Regions from separate parts of the Homo sapiens genome. Here all the other regions are linked to region 1. Evidence: promoter capture Hi-C in 16 types of primary human blood cells and fetal thymus (Javierre and others, 2016). All regions are on one chromosome and are shown on one strand. Each heading gives the region's core, a stretch centred on a gene start or on the middle of the fragment in contact. The rest is flanking DNA. Distances are from core to core; before and after follow the strand shown. Region 1 holds the start of PLEKHG6 (pleckstrin homology and RhoGEF domain containing G6). Region 2 overlaps VWF (von Willebrand factor). Region 3 overlaps VWF (von Willebrand factor). Region 4 overlaps VWF (von Willebrand factor). Region 5 overlaps VWF (von Willebrand factor). Region 6 overlaps VWF (von Willebrand factor). Region 7 overlaps VWF (von Willebrand factor).

Evidence for each region. Contacts are between HindIII fragments. The CHiCAGO score rates a contact against its expected background, and 5 or more counts as called.
Region 2: a contact is called between a fragment that was not itself captured here and the fragment with the promoter of PLEKHG6 in region 1, in 8 of 17 cell types (M0 macrophages, M1 macrophages, M2 macrophages and 5 more). The highest score is 8.9, in M0 macrophages.
Region 3: a contact is called between a fragment that was not itself captured here and the fragment with the promoter of PLEKHG6 in region 1, in 2 of 17 cell types (M0 macrophages and M1 macrophages). The highest score is 6.9, in M0 macrophages.
Region 4: a contact is called between a fragment that was not itself captured here and the fragment with the promoter of PLEKHG6 in region 1, in 2 of 17 cell types (M0 macrophages and megakaryocytes). The highest score is 6.4, in M0 macrophages.
Region 5: a contact is called between a fragment that was not itself captured here and the fragment with the promoter of PLEKHG6 in region 1, in 13 of 17 cell types (M0 macrophages, neutrophils, monocytes and 10 more). The highest score is 21.3, in M0 macrophages.
Region 6: a contact is called between a fragment that was not itself captured here and the fragment with the promoter of PLEKHG6 in region 1, in 4 of 17 cell types (neutrophils, M0 macrophages, M1 macrophages and 1 more). The highest score is 10.7, in neutrophils.
Region 7: a contact is called between a fragment that was not itself captured here and the fragment with the promoter of PLEKHG6 in region 1, in 2 of 17 cell types (M0 macrophages and neutrophils). The highest score is 6.0, in M0 macrophages.

The regions. Positions count from the first base shown.
Region 1 is chr12:6,309,232-6,311,931 of GRCh38, forward strand. It overlaps PLEKHG6 (pleckstrin homology and RhoGEF domain containing G6), which reads left to right and starts at 1,451. Exons shown (of 16, transcript NM_001384598.1): 1 at 1,451-1,617. RefSeq lists an enhancer at 265-985 and a silencer at 1,348-1,397. The HindIII fragment of the contact is 5,964 bases long and covers 1-2,543 here.
Region 2 is chr12:6,035,583-6,038,282 of GRCh38, forward strand. It overlaps VWF (von Willebrand factor), which reads right to left. Exons shown (of 52, transcript NM_000552.5): 19 at 806-909. Among named protein-coding and RNA genes, the nearest start is that of SNORA120, 3.2 kb to the right of the region's middle. The HindIII fragment of the contact is 5,048 bases long and covers 1-2,700 here.
Region 3 is chr12:5,967,036-5,969,735 of GRCh38, forward strand. It overlaps VWF (von Willebrand factor), which reads right to left. Exons shown (of 52, transcript NM_000552.5): 45 at 2,176-2,356; 46 at 1,092-1,132; 47 at 451-567. Among named protein-coding and RNA genes, the nearest start is that of ANO2, 23 kb to the left of the region's middle. RefSeq lists enhancers at 758-1,259, 2,532-2,700. The HindIII fragment of the contact is 7,621 bases long and covers 1-2,700 here.
Region 4 is chr12:5,950,265-5,952,964 of GRCh38, forward strand. It overlaps VWF (von Willebrand factor), which reads right to left. Exons shown (of 52, transcript NM_000552.5): 49 at 2,127-2,255; 50 at 1,580-1,619. Among named protein-coding and RNA genes, the nearest start is that of ANO2, 6.4 kb to the left of the region's middle. The HindIII fragment of the contact is 251 bases long and covers 1,211-1,461 here.
Region 5 is chr12:5,983,604-5,986,303 of GRCh38, forward strand. It overlaps VWF (von Willebrand factor), which reads right to left. Exons shown (of 52, transcript NM_000552.5): 39 at 1,960-2,062; 40 at 1,442-1,516. Among named protein-coding and RNA genes, the nearest start is that of ANO2, 40 kb to the left of the region's middle. The HindIII fragment of the contact is 7,184 bases long and covers 1-2,700 here.
Region 6 is chr12:5,999,949-6,002,648 of GRCh38, forward strand. All of the region lies in intron 34 of VWF (von Willebrand factor), which reads right to left. Among named protein-coding and RNA genes, the nearest start is that of SNORA120, 39 kb to the right of the region's middle. The HindIII fragment of the contact is 3,202 bases long and covers 1-2,700 here.
Region 7 is chr12:6,017,639-6,020,338 of GRCh38, forward strand. It overlaps VWF (von Willebrand factor), which reads right to left. Exons shown (of 52, transcript NM_000552.5): 28 at 727-2,105. Among named protein-coding and RNA genes, the nearest start is that of SNORA120, 21 kb to the right of the region's middle. RefSeq lists an enhancer at 911-1,410. The HindIII fragment of the contact is 2,016 bases long and covers 331-2,346 here.

The sequences.
Region 1 (2,700 bases), core at 201-2,700:
AGGAGATTCTGCTTCTGAAAGTGTTTCCTGAACTTCAGGATGCTCTGAAGAAGTAAGGAGCCGTATCAATCACTGTTGAGTTCATTGGCAGGAAATAGACCACAGTCAGGGTGAGGGGCTGGGAGCCTCAGACCTGCCACCTGCCAACTACAGGGTCTTGGGTTTCATGGTTGTGAGATTATAATGACCACACATCCACAGGACACTTCTATCTCAAATATCCAGTGCTTCTGTCAGACGAGGTGCCATGATTTGGAGAAGTGAAAAGGTGGGGAAACCGAAGCAGGAGGATCGCTTGAACCCAGGAGTTGGAGTCCATCCTGGGCCACACAGCAAGATATTGTCTCTATTTTCTTTTTAAAAAATAAATTTTAAAAATAAAGAAAATAAAGTATGGTCCTTTCATGCAATGCCCAGCATGTGTCAGTCCTTCCACAGCATCTTTTTCTTTTTCTTTCTTTTTTTTTTTTTTTTTTTTTGAGATGGAGTTTCACTCTGTTGCCCAGGCTGGAGTGCAGTAGTGCTGTCTTGGCTCACTGCAACCTCCACCTCCCAGGTTCAAGCGATTCTCCCGCCTCAGCCTCCCAAGTAGCTGGGACTACAGGCGCCCGTCACCATGCCCAGCTAATTTTTGTATTTTTAGTAGAGTCGGGGTTTCACCATATTGGCCAGGCTGGTCTCCATCTCCCGACCTTGTGATCCGCCCGCCTCGGCCTCCCAAAGTGTTGGGATTACAGGCGTGAGCCATCGCGCCTGGCCCCACAGCATCTATTTTAGCAGCCACCGCAAGGGCTGGGTGACCCTGGTGTAGCCGGGAGTGGGCTTATTTGCAGGTGAACTGGGAGGGTGCCCCCACCTGAGTCTTAGGTCATAGGAGAAGTGCGGGTCAGGCCTCAGCTGCCTATCCCTGGAGCAAAGGCAAAGTCCAGGATAGCCTTCCAGTATCACCTTCCACCAGGCAGGCCAGCCGGTCCTCTGAGAGATAAGGCTCACACTTTGGACTCCACACAGCGACGGGGCCCCCTGCCCCTCCAGCTGGCAGGCGGGCTCCCTGCCTGCTTAGGGGTCTAGGCCGAGGCAGGGGGAGGACCGGACGGCCGGCCACTCGCCGCGACCAGCAGGAGAGAGGGGTGCCTGCCACAGGTTGTCACCCTCGCCGCCTCCCCCGGCGGCGCCCCGCCCCTTACTCAGCCCTCATTACTGCAGCGCCTCGCGGGGGTCTGGCCCGGAGTGGAGGGCGCGCGGTCCCAGCCCTCCCGCTCGGCCGGCGGGTGTCGAGTTCAGGTGCGACCGAAAAGGGGAAAGGAGGGCACCGCCACGTGAGCTGTCCTCTCCGGGGAAGGCGGTGGCTGCGTGAGGGCGGGGGCTGCTCGGTCCCCAGGGCCCCGCCCCTCTGCCCCTCTGCCCCGAGCGGTGCTGGCGGTAGGGAGGGGCCAGCCCGGTCCCCGCCCTCCTCGCCCGGACCCGCGCTGCCCGGCTCCCGCGGGCCGCTCGATCCCAGTCCCAGGCTGGGCATCGGGGCTGGCTGGCATCGCCGGGGAGCCGACGGCGACGGGGAGCCCCGCGGGCGGGGAGGGCGGCGCAGGGCAGCGGGTGCGGTGACACCTGTGGGCACAGGTGAGCGGCGGGAGGGCTACGCGGCCCGGGGGCGGGGCGGCCGGGACCCGGGGCCTGGAAGCCGGGGCGAAGGGGAAGGAAGGCCTGGCCTCCCGAAGGCGGGAGGAGGGGAGCCGGGGGCTGGGCTGAGACAGGACCCTGGGTAGGGAGCAGTGCGAGGGAGACAGCGCCCTCAGAGGGAGGACTATTGGGAGGCGGCAGGAGGGACAGCGAACGTTTCCTCCTCTGCTCCTGAATCGGAGGAAGGTAAGGGAGGGCTGAGGCAGGACCTCAGGCCCACCCGGTCGGGGCACAAACACCTGCGCAGCCTTCTTGAGCCCACCGCCCCTTAGGAGGCCTCTCCTCTTCCAGGCCCTGCCCACTCGAGGGCGGGCCCTCCCTCCAGGTTTAGGGGGGAGGGATGGAGCCCCACGCCTGGCCCCCAGCTCCATGGTGGTATTCCCAGAGTCTGGGGAGGACCAAATATATAGCCCGAAACTGGAGAAACTCTAATTCTATTTGGCTGGTCTCTAAGGGCAGTGGCCGGACAGCTGGCCCCACTCACCTCCCTGTCTGTGGTCAGGAGGGTTCAGGTAGGAGATGGGCAAGCCTTTCAGTAAAGGCCAGACAGTAAAGATTAGAGACTTCGCGGCCTACACCGTCTGTCCCAACTAGCAAGAAGCAGTCACAGGTTATTAGGAGACCAGCAGAAGAGGATGGATTCCAACAAAACTGTGTTTATGGACACTGAATTTGAATATCATGTAATATTTACTTGTCCCAAAATATTGGTGGCTTTTTTGCAGGGGGGGCAGCAGTTGTTTCAACTATGTAAATATGTAAAGGCTTACAGGCTGTACAAAAACTGGTGGCAGACTGGGCTGTCTCCAGCCACCCCCACTCCCAGCCCACCCCACCCACCATGGCCTCCCTCCAGCTTTTTCCCAAGCTTTATATGGGGAAGGGGATGGGGTTATATCTAGGTGCAAGGAGAACCCTCCCACCTGGGTGTATCCAGAAAGCCCGAGACCTGTCTGTGACCCTTGTTCCCATTTGAGACCAGTGCAGGAGCTTGTACCCCAAATATGCACACATGTGAGAGAG
Region 2 (2,700 bases), core at 145-2,644, 270 kb before region 1:
TGGCCAAGGAAAAGGGAGAAGGCAACCAGCCACCCTCACCTCAAACCACGCCACTGCAAGCACACTCACGAAGTGCTCATGGGCAGTGTAAGGCCTGCAACGAAAGGACCCTCCAGACCCCGTGCCCACTGGCAGCTTGGCCCAAATGCAATGACTGGTGGGGCGAGGTCCCTGTCTTCCCTGGGGCCCATCTCCCTGAACAGAAATACAAGCTGAGCATTCCTAATCCAAAACTCTGAAGTCCAAAATGTTCTGAAACCCAAAACTTTGAGCACCAACATGACACCACATGGGTGGCTGAGAGGGTGACACCTTTACTTTCTGATGGTTCAATGTACACAAAACTTTGTTTCATGCACAAACATTAAAAATACTAAATACACATTAAATACATATTTAAAATGTTGTATAAACTTACCCTCAGGCAACGTGTATAAGGTATATATGAACCATAAATAAATGTCATGTTTAGATTTAGGTCCCATCCCTAAGACACCTCATTATGTATATGCAAATATTTCAAAGTCCAAAATAATCCAAAATCCAAAACAGTTGTGGTCCCAAGCATTTCGGATAAGGGCTACTGTACTAACCTGTTGAATAGTGTCTATGCAGGATGGACACAGGTGATGAAAAAGATTCTCCCCATTTTACAGATGGAGAAACACAGGCACGGAGGAAAGGCAGAGAGTAACCAGGTTCCCACAGGGGGCTGGAGGCAAGTGCGGAAGGTCCTGTGGCCGCGTGCACCCTCACTCCACCCGCAGGGCCTGGGTCCCCGGCGCAGCCCCTCACTGAGCCTCACCAAGTGTTGCAGCCAATCTTCACTGTTTCTCCAGGGGCATACTCCTTGCCCTGATGGAAGCAGGGACACCTTTCCAGGGCCACACATCTGTTCTCATGCCGGACCTAAGAGAAAAGAATCCAAAAGTCCTCAGGGCCACAGTGACTGATCTAAAGCCCTCCTCCAGCCCGCTCCAGGAAGTGTTGTCTGAGACTTGAGCCTACGGGTAAGCCCAGCACTGGGACTGGCACCAGGACCAGGGCTGAGCCAGGGGGACAGCTTCCACTGCAGGCCAAGCCAGGACAGGGATCCTATGCCCAGGCCAGGGCTTGGCAAACATGGGTTCCCATCTACATGGCTCCTCCCTGTCAACTAAAGACACTGACTGCCCTCTGCCCTCTCGTGCCCTGCTGGGGCACTGTAACCTGGACATTTTTGCAAAGGTACTTCAAAAAATCATGTCCAGAGGCCTTGAAATGCACATATTCTTACACCTAGCCATCCCAAGGAAAGGATTTCTCTGAGGGAAATAGAATTATGGACAAAGATTGATGGAGAATTATTTATCATTGCAAAAAAAAATTGGAAACACTTAATAGGAAAATGACTAAATCCATTGAGGAATCACCAGGCGCCAGTATCCTATGGTGCTATTACAATGGTCCTTTGGAAGAATCTTAAATGAAGTGAGAAATACTTATGCTGTTAATTTTTAACACAGGAAGAAAAACTGTATATACATATGGTTCCAAATGTATATATATTTCACAAAAGACTAGAAGGAAATACAGAATCTGCCTCCAGGTGGTGAGCTGGGATAGGCGAGTGGGAGGATTTTATTTTCTTTTTCAGTTTTAAAATTTTTTTCCAAGTGTTCTTCAATGAGCATGTATTATGTTTATAATTAAAGAAAATGAACACTATATTGAATAAAATTAATATGTACTTAACACTCTGGAGGTGAGGGCCAAATATTGGGCATAAGTAGAAATCGATCAGAACTAGAGTCTGGGGGCTGGTCCAAGCCACAGGCCCCCTCCTGCCCAGTCTCCCGTATCCCGGTTCACTCTCCATGGGGTATGCTCTACTTCCCCGTCGTCACCCCTCGGGAAACTACTTTCGTGAGCATGTTGTATTCCTCCGGTCTGTTGGGGCTGAGAAAATAAAAGAACTAAGAACTACCAGCCCCAGAAGAGTCAGCCAAACCCACTCTGAGCTCAACATGCAGACACGCTTCTGTCCCGACTCCAAGGGGCAGCCCTGGGTGCCTGTCCTGGTGTGGCCTAGCCTTGGGGGTTCTCAAAGAGGCCTGGGTCACCCCCAGGTGAAGGACTGTGGCACCTTGGCTCCAGAGCTCCCTGCAGGGCGAGAAGCTCCTGGTCTGAACAGTTCCAGCTCCACGTGACCCAGTCACTCCCCAGACAAGTCTGAGCTCCCAGGCCTGGAGCTGGACAAATCCCTGGGAACAGGGCAATCTTGGGCTGAACAAAGGGCTTTCAAGGACCCAGGCTAGAATCGTATGTGAGCATGTGTGTGTTGGGGCGGTTGGGGGGAGGGAAATAGGAAGAATCCTCCACTGCTTAATGTCATCTTCACCCAACCTCAGGAGGTGTTCCCGCATCTCTGGAAGCCCAGCTGATGGGTCAGGATGACAGTGCAGGGCATAAGATGCAGGTTGACCCCACTCTTGGTAGCTCTTACCTCCCGGAACCACTGTTCTTGGGAGGGAATGAGCTTAAGCACCCAGTAGGGAAGATGGCACCTTGGTAGGAGCTGGCAGGGCTGAAAAACCTCTCTCTAGCAGAGCATTCAAAGCCTCTGTCACAATTAGGGTTCATGTCCACATCGCCCCGTCCAGTGTCAGCTCTGACTTAAGCCTGAGGCCCACCACCTAGTGGCTGCTATAAGAATGACTG
Region 3 (2,700 bases), core at 169-2,668, 340 kb before region 1:
CCATCCAAATGTCCCGCAATAATAGCTTGGTTGTATACACGAGGCACATCCATTCAAAGGAATGTTGTGTAGAGCCTTGCACATAGGAGGTGTCTGATAAATATTTGTTGACTAATTTTTAATATTTTCAAAGAACGGTGGTGCTGTTTCTTAAAATACATAAAGGGATACAGAATTGTAAACATAGTATCATAAGCCTGGCAAATACTGTGTTTATTCTGAAAACTCAGGAAGAAAATGTTTGCAACTTATAAAACTAAAATTATAATTATTTCTGAGGCATGCAGTTTGGGTGGGTGATTTTTAGTCTCTTCTTTATTATTGTCAATTATTGTTTATAATCAGAAAATAATGAGAGATTTATTTATTTAAAGACCGCAGTGAGGTCCCACTGCCTGGGTCCCACACGCGTCCAGTCCATGCCCTCGGTCCCCATTGAGCCTCTCTTACCAGGGGGCAGGGGTTGCAGGTGGTCTTCCTGCACTCCAGCTTGAATCCAGAGATGACCCCCACCTGCACCATGCAGCGGCAGGTCGTGCACACATCGATCATCACAGTCTTCCCGGGCTGGAAGCAGAGGCACCAGGGTCAGGCCCCCCAGCATCCCCCAACCCCCCACTCACCTCACTCTCATACCCTGTCTCCTGCCCACCCACCCATAGCTCCCATGAGCCATCGCTCTGCTGCTCCTCCTGTCTCCTATGGCCCACTGCCTTCCCGTCCTCCCACCTCCAGTATCAAGATGGTAAGAGTGAGAACTTTCATGCCAAAGAGGCAGCCCAGGTAGTGGCAGAGGGGACAAACTAAAACGTGCACAATGACTTCAGAGTGCTTCTCTGCACACAGAAGAAATGCACAGGTGCCTGAGGTGGGGGCCAGGAAGTGAGTGTGAGACAGGCCCGGAGAGTCAGGAAGATGGTCCTAGCCTGGGCTCCATGATGCCAGGCACGTCCCACAGGCAGTGGAAAGCTGGGGTTGGGTCTCTCTGGTTTCCTTCATTTCTGCTTTACAATGACTTGCCTGCTCCCCTTCCCACAGTACCCCCTTCCCTGTCCCCACCACTTGCTCTGGAGAAGAGGACAGCGGCTCACCCCAATGACAGTGCCATTGAGCATGCAGGCCTCCATGCGCTCTGGGGGAGAGAAAAGTGCAGAGTGAGAGTGGGCAAAACACACCCTGGTGAGACCGGCGAGCAGGCTGCTCTCTTTGGGGCTCCTCCTCCGTGTCTGGGCCTCCCTCCTGTATCGGTCGGCCCTTTCCCCCCACCCCACAACCCAGCGCTGGGGGTCCTACTGCTGGAGCCCACAGCGGCCTCCCTTCCCCATGCAGCCCACAATGAGAAGAGCCCCGTACGTTCTCCAAGTGACAGCGCTTGCTTATGTGAATTTACATTTAAGAGATGGGATGAATGGGAGGATGTTTGGGTTTATGAAACAATGAAACGCTACTCTTGAAAATTTCAGTTTCAAGAATTCAGTGGCCAGGCACAGTGGCTCATGCCTGTAATCCCAGCACTCTGGGAGGCCGAGGTGGGCAGATCACTTGAGGTCAGGAGTTCAAGACCAGCCCAGCCAACATAGCAAAACCACATCTCTACTAGAAATACAAAAATTAGCCGAGTGTGGTGGCGCACGCCTGTAATCCCAGCTACTTGGAGGCTGAGGCAGGAAAAGTGCTTGAACCCAGGAGGCCAAGGTTGCAGTGAGCCAAAATAGTGCCACTGCACTCTAGCCTATCCAGAGATAGCGCCAGTCACTCCAGAGTGAGAATCTGCCTCAAACAAACAAACAAACAAATAAATAAAATTCAGAGCAGGATATGGTAGAAAGAACTAGTTTTTGTTGTTGTTGCCATTTTTCTGTTTGTTGGCAGCGTTGGGGTGGCAAGTTGAACGCCTTCCCCTGGGTGAAACGTCACAGCATTTCAAAGGTGGTCTCCAAATCAGAGAAGCCTAGGGCCGAATCCCAGTCTTGCCATGTAGTGATCTTCAGGAAATTCCTATGGTTTTCCCATTTAATTTGCTTTCTCATAAAAGCAGTAGGAGCAGATGGGAAGATTTCGGTCCTATCCATTTCCCTAAGTTGCTAAAAAGGCAAAGAATTCAGGAGCCAAAAGTGGAAAGAGAGGCTTAAAGGTGGTGCCCGGTCCAGCCCAGCCCCAGCCTGCATGCCTTACCACAGCGACAGCTTGGGCAGCACGCTGAGGTCTTACAGCTCAGCTGAAAGCCCGAGGGGCAGACAGGGACCTCCAGCTGGGGGCAGGAGACGTTCCTTTGTTGTATAAAGACCTCCTCCTTCACTCGGACACACTCATTGATGAGGCAGGGGTTCTCCGGGGAGGCCCACTGGGAGCCGACCTGCAGGGCACCAGAGTTAGTCCAACAAGCTGGGGCAGGGCTGGAGCCCAGGGTCCCATTGGGAATGTGCTCTTCTCTCAGGAAGGTGGTTTCTAGACGTGAAGCCTGGCTTAACATGTAAGTCCCACCACAGGGTAGGGCCCACGGAGGGGATGAGTGGGGCTCGTCTCAGTGAGCACCACTCAAACAGTTTGGGTCAAAATCACCTGACTGAGGCACCCAGGCAAGCACCTTGGAGAAGCCAGGGGACTCACCCTCCCTTCCTCAGCATTGGTTTGAGCTGAGCTCAGATACTCCGGCCAAGAAGCAGCACTGTGGGCCATCAGTGGGAAGGTGCAGCCGGG
Region 4 (2,700 bases), core at 86-2,585, 360 kb before region 1:
AATAAGTATAATTACTATCTCTTCATTCCTGCCTTGGGGTAAGAGGAAAGGCGAAGTCATGGTGATGTAAGGGCATACCCTGCCTCTCTGGGGACCGAGAAGATCCCTAGGCACCTTTGTGAAGGCCTCTCTTCGGGTACTGCTGACTCCAGGTTGCTGACATGGGGGTTTCCTTTCACACAGGGGTTAGTGGCATTCAGATCTGAATCTCTACTTGGCCCACTGGGAATTCAAAAATTTAATCCCAGCTCACCATTCCAGTCTGAACACTGGGAGTTTTCTGTCCTTAGATGGCTCGAAATCTAAATCAACCCTAACTACATATTAGTCTGCCTCCTAATTTCTAGATAATTTCATTGTAAAGGGAAAGCCTGCCAATTACATTAAGAGGATGAATTAAAAAAAAAAAACATTTAGACCAGCATACTATACTATGTTGCTGTGGATTTAAGGCCCTGAGCCTGGCTTATTGTCCTTATTAAAGATCTCGAAGCCTCTTGAATGAGTTGACCAACAAAGACCCTTTGTGGTGGTTTTGTAGGTAACAGTCTCCTAATCAAATTCCACGTGCAGTGTGCCTAGAGAGAATTCTTCTTCTCTGATGGTTTCCTGACTTCACATTCTTAAACCATTCAAATGGGAATCATAGAAAGACATGCTTTCAGAGTGCTTCCTCGATCTGAGATTTGGTTACAGCAATTGCAGGGGCTGTCAAGAATGAATGATTGAACACTGAAAGTATTCATGTTTTCACTCTTCCTTTCTCTATCTGTAAACAAGCATGGACCTGTGAACCCAGGGCAGAAAAGAAATACCCTAATCTAAAACAAAAAATCTTAGTCCAGGCAAGTAATTCTATATTCAGAAATTATGGCATTAGCATTGGGATCCTGAAAGTTATTTGTGCTCACAAACACAAGCATGTATGGGAAGAACACTGTCTGATGTGCAGATTTGTGTCTCGTCTCCAAAGCTGCTGCTGTGAGCAATGAGAACCAATCAGTAGGACATAACTACGAGGTAAAGAGGAGCTCAGAGTGAAGAAGAGGGGGTGATAAACTTAGACCAGCCCCCACAGCACATGTGGGCTGTTGTCAGCCAGCTGGTGGCTTCGCTTTCTCTTTGAGATAGCTTTAGCACACTCATGAATAGATATGTGTTGAGAGTCTACTCTGTCAGGATCATAGATCCAAGGTGCCTGTCTTCAAGAAGCTTTGGTTAGAGAGGGAACATATCGTCCCAGGATAGGACTATGAGCAATCAAAGATCCTATGAGGGAAAAGGCACATAAGAAGCTGGAGACAGGAGGGAGTTTGCAGGAAAAGGGGAAAGAGATTGCTCCATGGGATCTAAAAGGGAGTTCAAGAGGGCAGTCTGATGACATCCAAGGAGGGGAGGCTGCTCCCTGCAAGACTGAACATAATGACTGACCAGTGGTCACGAAATATCTTTCTGAAATAAAGCTTACTCCAAAGAACAGTCATGCGGCTTGCTAATGGGTTTCAAGGAGCAAGCTGCAAAGAGCCCCTGGACTTGCTCTGATGGGTTTCAAGGGACAAGATATTAGTAACGCACTCACATGTGTCACAGCAGGTGCCTGGAATTTTCATAATTTTACCCTAAGAAAACAGCAAAATTTCAGGTTAGGCACAAACAGTACAGAGTAGACAGCTTTCAGGTCACTCCGGGCCAATTTTTAGCTCCGAACTCACAGCCCTGTGCTTAAGTGCCCAGATGTAAACTATGCTTTCCTATCATAAATGTGAGCAGCTTGACCACCCTACCTGACCAGGCTGAAACAATTTTGATGATTCTGAATTCTCTTCCAGTTGAGTCATCAGGATCTTCATTCCCAGGGAGACTAAAAATCAGTTTGATCTCACATTTTATTCAAGAATCACACACTCAGCCTCCCTTAAGGAAAATATTTTTTTAAAACATCCTATATTGCAGAGAATTTTATCTCTCCGTAGGCTTTGATTTCGTAATCTCACTGATTCTTCAACTAGGCCAGAGATGTGCCTCAGACACTGAGAAATTATGCCGGAGCTGGGATGCACACTATTCAGAAGAATCTTGTTCTTAGAGATTGAGACAGTAAAGAGGAAAGCAGAATGAGTACTCACTCCCTCAGCCAGACACTTGTGTTCATCAAAGGGTGGGCAGCCTGTGACCCTCTTCTCCCAGAAGTACTCTCCTCTCTCATTGACCTTGCAGAAGTGAGTATCACAGCCATCCTGGAGCGTCTCATCACGCTGGAAGGAAAGAGGAGTGGGTAAAGTCAGAGACAGTGTTTGGTTCACAAAGCCACTTCAAACCATGAGCTTGACTCCATGGAGATGACGAAACAATCTGCAGAACCATGAAACAAGAAGACAGTGTATAATAAAGCCCCCACACCCAGAACACAGACCAGAAGTGGAGTCCCAGTTTTACAGCTTGTATCCTATGAACAGGGCTGCTATGTAGACTCTTCCGACCAGTTAAATGCTTGAAGGATTGAGATATAGCAACAGTAAACTGGCTAGCTGATAACTGAACTAGAGATGAACGAAGGGAACTACCTCCCAGCCCCACCAGCTAGTCCGGACTTCATAGACCAGAGTTTGTTTCACGCTGATGGCCTGTCCAGTCTTACAGACGCCCAAGGGTAGAGAAAATCTTAAAGATCAACCACCTCCAGGCCAGGCACGGTGGCTC
Region 5 (2,700 bases), core at 178-2,677, 330 kb before region 1:
AAACATAGGGTAGATAGACAGATAGATATAGAATAGATGATAGATACATATGTTAGACAGAGATAGGATAGATGATAGATACATAGGTTAGATAGAGATAGGATAGATTATAAATAGATACACAGGTTAGATAGATTAGACAGACAGATAGATACATACATAGATATAGGATAGATAACTAGATACAATAGAGATAGATAGATAGATAGATAGATGATAGAGGATAGATGATAAATAGATATATAGCTTAGATAGAGATAGGATAGATGATAGATACATAGGATAGATAGAGACAGGATAGATGATAAATAGATACATAGGTTAGATAGAGATAGGACAGATGATAAATACATAGGATGGATGGATAGATGGATAGATAGATAGATAGATAGATAGATAGATAGATAGATAGATAGACAGACAGACAGACAGACAGATAGATCAATCCAAGTCACATACTGATTATTCTTATCATCCACTAGGGCTTTCACATCTCAGCCAAGTCAACTTGGATCCTCTAGACCTGTTTCTTCTTCTGGAAGGTGGGAACTCTACCTTATAGGATCAGTCTGAGGAGTTCACAAAATAATAAGGGCAAAGTGCCCGGCACATTGTAGGAGACTAGTAATGTCTATAAAATGAGGGGCTTGAAGTAAATGATCCCTCTAGTTCTCTCTACTGCTAACATTCTAAGACCTCCTTTACATTAATTGTTCTCAAGCCACATCTCCCTCCCCTACAGGACTTCTATTTATTTCTGATCAATTTCATGAGTACAAATAAGTTTCTCCGATTATATGATTTTCTTTTAGTTCCTTGGACTGTCCCCTGATCTATCTGCTCTCCCTTCAATATCTGCATCACTGCAAATTGTACAAGCCTGTGCTTTAGGTCTTCATCTGTACAAGCAATAAACACACTGGACAGGACTGGGACAAAGGCACTAATGATTTCCTGCCATGCTAACCGTAATTCCATCAGCTCTGAATTCACGGACTTATACCATTATTCAGCCCACTATTCACAGAGCAGCCTGCAAGGCTAGCATGAAAACCTCTAGCAAACAACCTGCTGAACTCAAGGTGCCCAGTGTGTGGTCTTCTCTATATCTAGCAGCCTCAAAATCTTATTGAAAATGAAAATGGGTTGCTTTGGCATGACCTTTTCTTCAGTATATCTCCATAGTCCCCAGTAATCACCCCATTCTTGTATTAATCCTGTCAAACCTGTGTTTAGTAATTTACAGTAGATTCTTCTAGGAAGCAAATCCTATTCTCCAGAGGTAACCCTTTCCACTTTTTTGGAGTATCCAGTCGGTCCTTACCCACCTCCTTTCACACACCCTGTGCCTGAGAACAGAGACACCTTTCAGCACCTTCAACGTGGTGCCCCCTGGGGCTAGGGTTGGGCCCTGGAGACATCCCCCTGGTGGGACACATACCACACTCATACTCGGGGCAGCACTGGTCTGCATTCTGGCGGAGGCGGGCTACTTCACACAGGCCACACGTGGGAGCTAGAGGAGAGGAACGGCCACAAAAGTCAGAGAAATTAGTGGTGGGACAGCCTCAGAGGGATTTGAAATGTTCTTGCTCACTGAAAACTAGTAGGAGTTCTGTACGGTCATCCCACAAGGATCCAGGCCACGGGACCTCTGACAGATGAGTGTCCCCATGTTCCTGTTGACACCCTCACATTTACCCTCCAGGGGACTCTTAAGTCTGACCGTTGCTGGGGACCAGAGGCGAGGGTTAATCTGAGAATGTCGACCCCAGGTGCAGAATGGGGCTCCCAGGCCCAGTGATGGGAAATGCAGGCTGGGCAAGGAAGCCCACCCACTCTAGGACTCTAGGTGCCAGTGTTTGAGTCTGCTCTGCCAGAGGTGAAGATGGGTGGCTGGGGGGCCTTGCAGGGGCCCTTGTTCCTCCATGAAGGCACCAGGGAGGGGAGGACTCTCACCTTTGGCCGTGGGGCAGGGCTGCGTTGTGCAGTTGACCTTCCGCCCGCTGAGGCATGTGCAGATCTGACAGGGCTGGTGGTCCGGGACCCAGGCTTCCAGGAACTGAGGGCAAAGCGAGGTTCAGAAAGGGCACAGGACATTCTAGGTACGAAGCCCAGAATTCACAGAGGTCAGCTCTCCCTGCCTCCGGCAAGGGCCAGTCCCTGACCCAGCCCTCTGACAGAGCCTCACAGGCAAACAAAAGCAGGCTGAAAGGAGGTTGTGAGGTTCTAATGGCTTTCAGAAAGGTGGTTGCCACATTGCTTTGTAAACTAACATGCGGAAATTTTCACTACAGCCTTCTCTGTTGGCAGTGCTAAAACCAAGCAAAGAAAGAAAAATGAGAGTTCTTGGATCGCACTGCTAGTCATTTCTCAAGCCAAAGGAGAAATTGGGTTGTTGCTTGGGGAAAAAAATCCATTTATTTCTGAAATTGACTTCAGACAATAGGGTAGGAAGAGCGGTGGGGAGGACAGCAAAACTCTTGAAAGCATCACATTCTTGATGCCCGCAGTGACTTTAGAGGCCTGAGTGCAGTTCTCTGATTTTTCAAATGGGAGACGGCCCAGGGCAGAGAGCAGCCTTCTCGAAGGTACACACAGCCCCACAGCACAAGGCTTTGAAGTCAGGAACTCCTGAACTCTAACAAAGGCTGCATTCCGCTGTGCCTCAGTTTCCTCACCTGTAAAATGAGCGTACTC
Region 6 (2,700 bases), core at 13-2,512, 310 kb before region 1:
GAGCATCAGAGAAAAGCAAAAAAAAACCAATCAAGAGAATGAAAATGAGTTAATGAAGAAAGTATAAAGGTCAAAGAGACAGTAATGAAAATGTAAGACAGGAGAAAAAATGGACTCTTAAAAGAGAAAACAAAACAATGGAACAGAACTAACACTTAAAGAATATAACTCATGAAAACATTCTGGAAATCAAAAAAGAACCAAATCTATGTATGGGAGTCATGTGCCAGATGTCCGGAAAAATTAACCCAAAACAGTCAACTCTGAGACATATTACAGTACACTATTAGACTTCAAACATAAAGAAAAAATTTTCCAGGCCTTCAGGCAAAAAGATCAAATAATTTACAAGGACAAAAGAATTATATTGGTATCAGAATTTTCAAAAGCAATATACAAAGCAAGGCAACAATGGAGCAGCATTTTTCAGAAATTTAGTGAAAGAAAATGTGAATCAAGAATTCTGTATTCAGCCAAGGTGCCCTTCTAGCATCAATGCTATAGAAAAACAGTTTTAAATACATAGGAATTAATGGAATTCTGTACACATAAGCCCTTCTTAAGATATCTACTAGAGACCCAGGCGCGGTGGCTCACGCCTGGAATCCCAGAACTTTGGGAGGCCGAGGCAGGCGGATCACGAGGTCAGGTGATGGAGACCATCCCGGCTAACACGGTGAAACCCCGTCTCTACAAAAAAAAAAATACGAAAAATTAGCCAGGCGTGGTGGCGGGCGCCTGTAGTCCCAGCTACTCGGGAGGCTGAGGCAGGAGAATGGCGTGAACCTGGGAGGCGGAGCTTGCAGTGAGCCGAGATCGCGCCTCTGCACTCCAGCCTGAGCCACAGAGCGAGACTCTGTCTCAAAAAAAAAAAAAAAAAAAAAAAGAAATCTACTAGAGAACATTTCCTCCAACTAAGAGATGACTAGGAAATGTTAACAAAACAACTAAAGTGAGCATTTTTATTTATATAGTCATAGATCTAAAACTAAAACGAAGAATGGAAGACTAATGTGCAAATGTTATATGCTGTGACAGTAGAAATAATAGAACTCGACAATGGGAGGAGAGGGGAGGGAACAAGAAAAGTTAGAATAACCTCATTGATTGTTGGATAGCCACAGGTAGAAGTTAAAGAATGCTATTAAAAACTGAAAAACTGATTAATGAATGCTTAAATTTAAAAATATGGGCCTGAAGGCATTTTAGAAAGGTATAACTTCAAAGGTAATGACAGGAACAAAAGCATAAACCTTCCTAGACACCTTAACGTATCACCACATTTATAAATGAAAAATATATAACAAACAATTATAAAATATAATGACGAAAGAAGATCAAACACAAGATGGCAATAAATGAGAATGGGCTTAACTTGTCTACTAAAACAAAAAGGTTTTCAATTCGGCTCAAAGGCAAGACCCAACTATTGCTATATAACTAAAATTCAGAAAGGCTAAAGTAAAGGGACAGACAAAGGATATCAAACAATAAGAAAACAGGGATGGAGATTTTGATATCAGACAAAGTAAAATTCTAGCCAAAAAAAAGATTAAATGTGACTAATAAGAGCATTCTGAACAGTATAATTCACAATGAAGCCATAACAGCTGTGAATATCTATGCACCAGACAACATCTTCATAGAGCAAAAACTATAGGAGAAGCAAGGAGACATTGGTAGACAAACTAATAACAGGATACTTTTAGACATCCCTTTCAGAACCAGATAGATAAAATGGGGAAAAGGTAAGTAAGACTATAGAAGACAAACATTAAAATCAAAATATGTAGTTCTCATGGAGGGGTGACAGGAAGAGAGCGAGGGATCTCATACTCTACACCCTGATAATAGAGAATACACCTTCACAAAAACTGATCATGTATTAGATCACGAAGAAAATAACGGTAACTTCCACAAAGTAGAACTATTACAGATACTCTCGTCAGAGTATAGTAAAATTAAAAATTTTTTAATTATTGTTTAAAAAGATCTTTACACTTGGAAATTTTTTTAATTTATGATATAAATCCTGGGTGAAAGGGACAATAAAAACAGATAGTACAGAATTTCTTTAGAAAATAATGATAATAAATACACTACATATCAGACTCATTGGGATACATATAAAGTGATCCTAGGAAAATTCATAACAGTAAACATTTCTGTCAATAAAAATAAAACAATGAAAATGAATGAAATTCCCAGTTCCAATTAAATAGAAAAGCACAAAAGGTAAACTAAAAGAAAATTCAAGGAAAGAAGTCATAAAATAGCAAGGATAAAAGCAGAAATCCATAAAGTAGAGAATATAAAAACAGTAAACATAATAAATAAATTGAAATCTTGATTTTTAAAAAAATCCAGAAAGACAAATCATGAGTTAATTTGATCAAGAAAAAAGATAATAAACATGTATATAAATTAACAAATGACAAAAGAAAATCGCTATTTAAAAAGAATTTTTGATATTATAAAAGATTACTGTGAAAATTTTACTTGTACCCTAGAGTATATACAAACAATAAACAAAATTTTAGTTTAAAAAAAAGACTACTTTCAAGACCTCTATACAATAAATGTGAAAATCTAGATGAAATGGATAAATTTCTAGGAAAATGGAGATTAACAAAATTAACTCCTGTAGATAAAAGACAAATCTTAAGCACACCAATTTACATGGAAGAATTAGAGTAAGTT
Region 7 (2,700 bases), core at 89-2,588, 290 kb before region 1:
TCATGTGCCAGATACTATTTTAAGCAAGTAGGTGCTATTATTATCCCCATTTTATAGATGAGGATACACAAAGATGTGTATCCTTTGTATAGATGATATACAAAGAGGTTAAGTATTTGCCTCATCCTTTGTATAGACGATATACAAAGAGGTTAAGTATTTGCCCAAAATTACCCAGCTAGCAAGTAGCAGAGATAAGATTCAAACTAAGGCAGTCTGACTCCAGTGTCTGAAGACTGCACCTGCTACCTGACACCTGACATCCTGGTCTTGCCCTGAAGAATGTCAGCTACTCGGAATAATTTCACCCACCCAGTGTGGTCAAAATGAAGCTTATCATCACCACCTTTAACAGAGGTTACCTTGAAGGCAGAGGGTGGAATTGGGTGGGGAAGAGGCTGTGTGATAAAGTAAGACTTGCATTTTTTTTTTTTTTTTACTCCTTATTGGCATTGTTTAAATGTTAACAATAGGCTTCCATTACCTTTGAATTTATAGAAGCACACACAATAAGAAAAGATCTTCCCCCGAAAAAGGATCACAGTTTGTCTCCCTGCCAGGGAGGTGAGGAAACACAGGCCCTTTGAAGGCAAGTTTCAACCAAGGCCACACAGACCAGGGAAGCCAGGATTAGAACCCGAGTCGTATCTTGGCAGATGCATGTAGCACCAAGGCCATGCCAGCCCTCGCCCAGCCCTCCCACCTGCACACAAGGTGCCAGCATACCAGGTGCAGGGGAGAGGGTGGGGATCTGCAGCCCCTCTCCGGAGCAGCACCTCTGCAGCACCAGGTCAGGAGCCTCTCGGGGGAGCGTCTCAAAGTCCTGGATGAGGATAGGGGCATTGGGCCAGCCAATCCTCTCCAGCTCCTGCACGTTGGCATTAGGGCCCACTCCAATGGGCACCACCTGGATGTCTCCAGGCAGCCTCTTGATCTCATCAGAGGCAGGATTTCCGGTGACCATGTAGACCAGGTTGGGCGCCTGCTCCCGGTCACCCTGGCTGACCAAGAAGCTGTGGTCAGAGAGGTACCGCAGGGCCAGCCCAGTGTTGGTCCTGTTGCCGCCCTGGTAGCGGATCTCTCGCACCCGCTGCAGGATGTCCCCTTTGGACTGTGCCTCGCTGAAGGGGTACTCCACAGTCACCATGTAGGAGTACTGCAGCACCGTGACGTGGATGCTGTCCTGGCCCACATCCATCCGCTGAATCACCTCCTCCATGAACTCCTTGCTCCTGTTGAAGTCGGCTTCACCAATTTTGTCCGATCCTTCCAGGACGAACGCCACATCCAGAACCATGGAGTTCCTCTTGGGCCCCAGGGTCGAAACCCCCAAGAGCCCCGGGCCCACAGTGACTTGTGCCATGTCGGGGGGCAGAGTAGGAGGAGGGGCTTCAGGGGCAAGGTCACAGAGGTAGCTAACGATCTCGTCCCTTTGCTGCTCCAGCTCATCCACACTGCTCAGCACGAAGGCCTTGTTCTCAGGGGCCTGCTTCTCGATGAGGCGGATCTGCTTGAGGTTGGCATGGGGCCCAATGCCCACCGGGATCACAATGACCTTCTTCTTCTTCAGGCCCTGGACGTAGCGGACAAAGTTCCGGGACATCCGTTGGGGCTCCTGGCTGGCCATCAGGAGCAGGGTGATGCGGGAGGCTTCAGGGCGGTCGATCTTGCTGAAGATTTGGAACAGTGTGTATTTCAAGACCTCGCTGGTGGAGGCCACCTGGCTGCCCGCATACTTCACCTGGCTGGCAATGCGCCGCAGCTCTGACGGTCGCTTCCGGTCCTTGAGCCCGATGTAGGCGTGGGAGCCGTCGTGGTACTCCACCACGGCCACGCGGACCCACTTCTGGGAGATGCGCAGCCGCTCCATCATGTCCACCACAAAGGCCTTCAGCACTTCAAACTCAGCCTCGGACAGCCTGGAGGAGCCATCCAGCAGGAAGACCAGGTCCAGTAGCCTGCTGCAGTAGAAATCGTGCAACGGCGGTTCCGAGATGTCCTCCACATACAGAGTGGTGGGGCTCACCGGGGCATCTGTGGGAGGCACCACCAGGCCTCCCGGCTCCTGGCAGGCTTCACAGGTGAGGTTGACAACATCACAGTGGCTGCAGAAAAGAGCGAAGAAATTAAAATGGTTCAGGAAGAACCTGTGGACACTTCTGAGCCCTACAGTGTACAATGACTTCCATATTCCCACAGAATCTCCTCTGTTCCACCTGAACTTGAGATCCCATGGACCATTCCACATCCAAGTGAGATGTCATTGTTTAACATCTGTCCCCAAATAGCATGCCCCCCACCTTCAAAACACACACATAGCCGACTTCCTTTGATTCTAGAAACCAAAGCTTTAGCCCATCCTAGGATATGAAAAAATATACTCGTTGTTCTAGGCCATCCACACAACCACTCAAAGCTGATTTCTTTTCAACCTACATCTTTAGCAACATGAATACTTAATTATAATCCAAGCCTTCTTACAAGTGTCTCCAAGAACAAATGTTACTAAAATGTAGACGCTAACCTGTGTTTGTACATGTTCTGTTGAAGATAAATGCTTTACAGTACATATTCTAACAGAATGTAAATTGCATGAGTTTTAAAACATGTTTGATATGTTGGGCCCTAACGAAGAGAGAAAAAATTGGAGCAAAAACATTGTAGAAAGATGAATAAAGATTCAAAACCCCAGCTTTATCT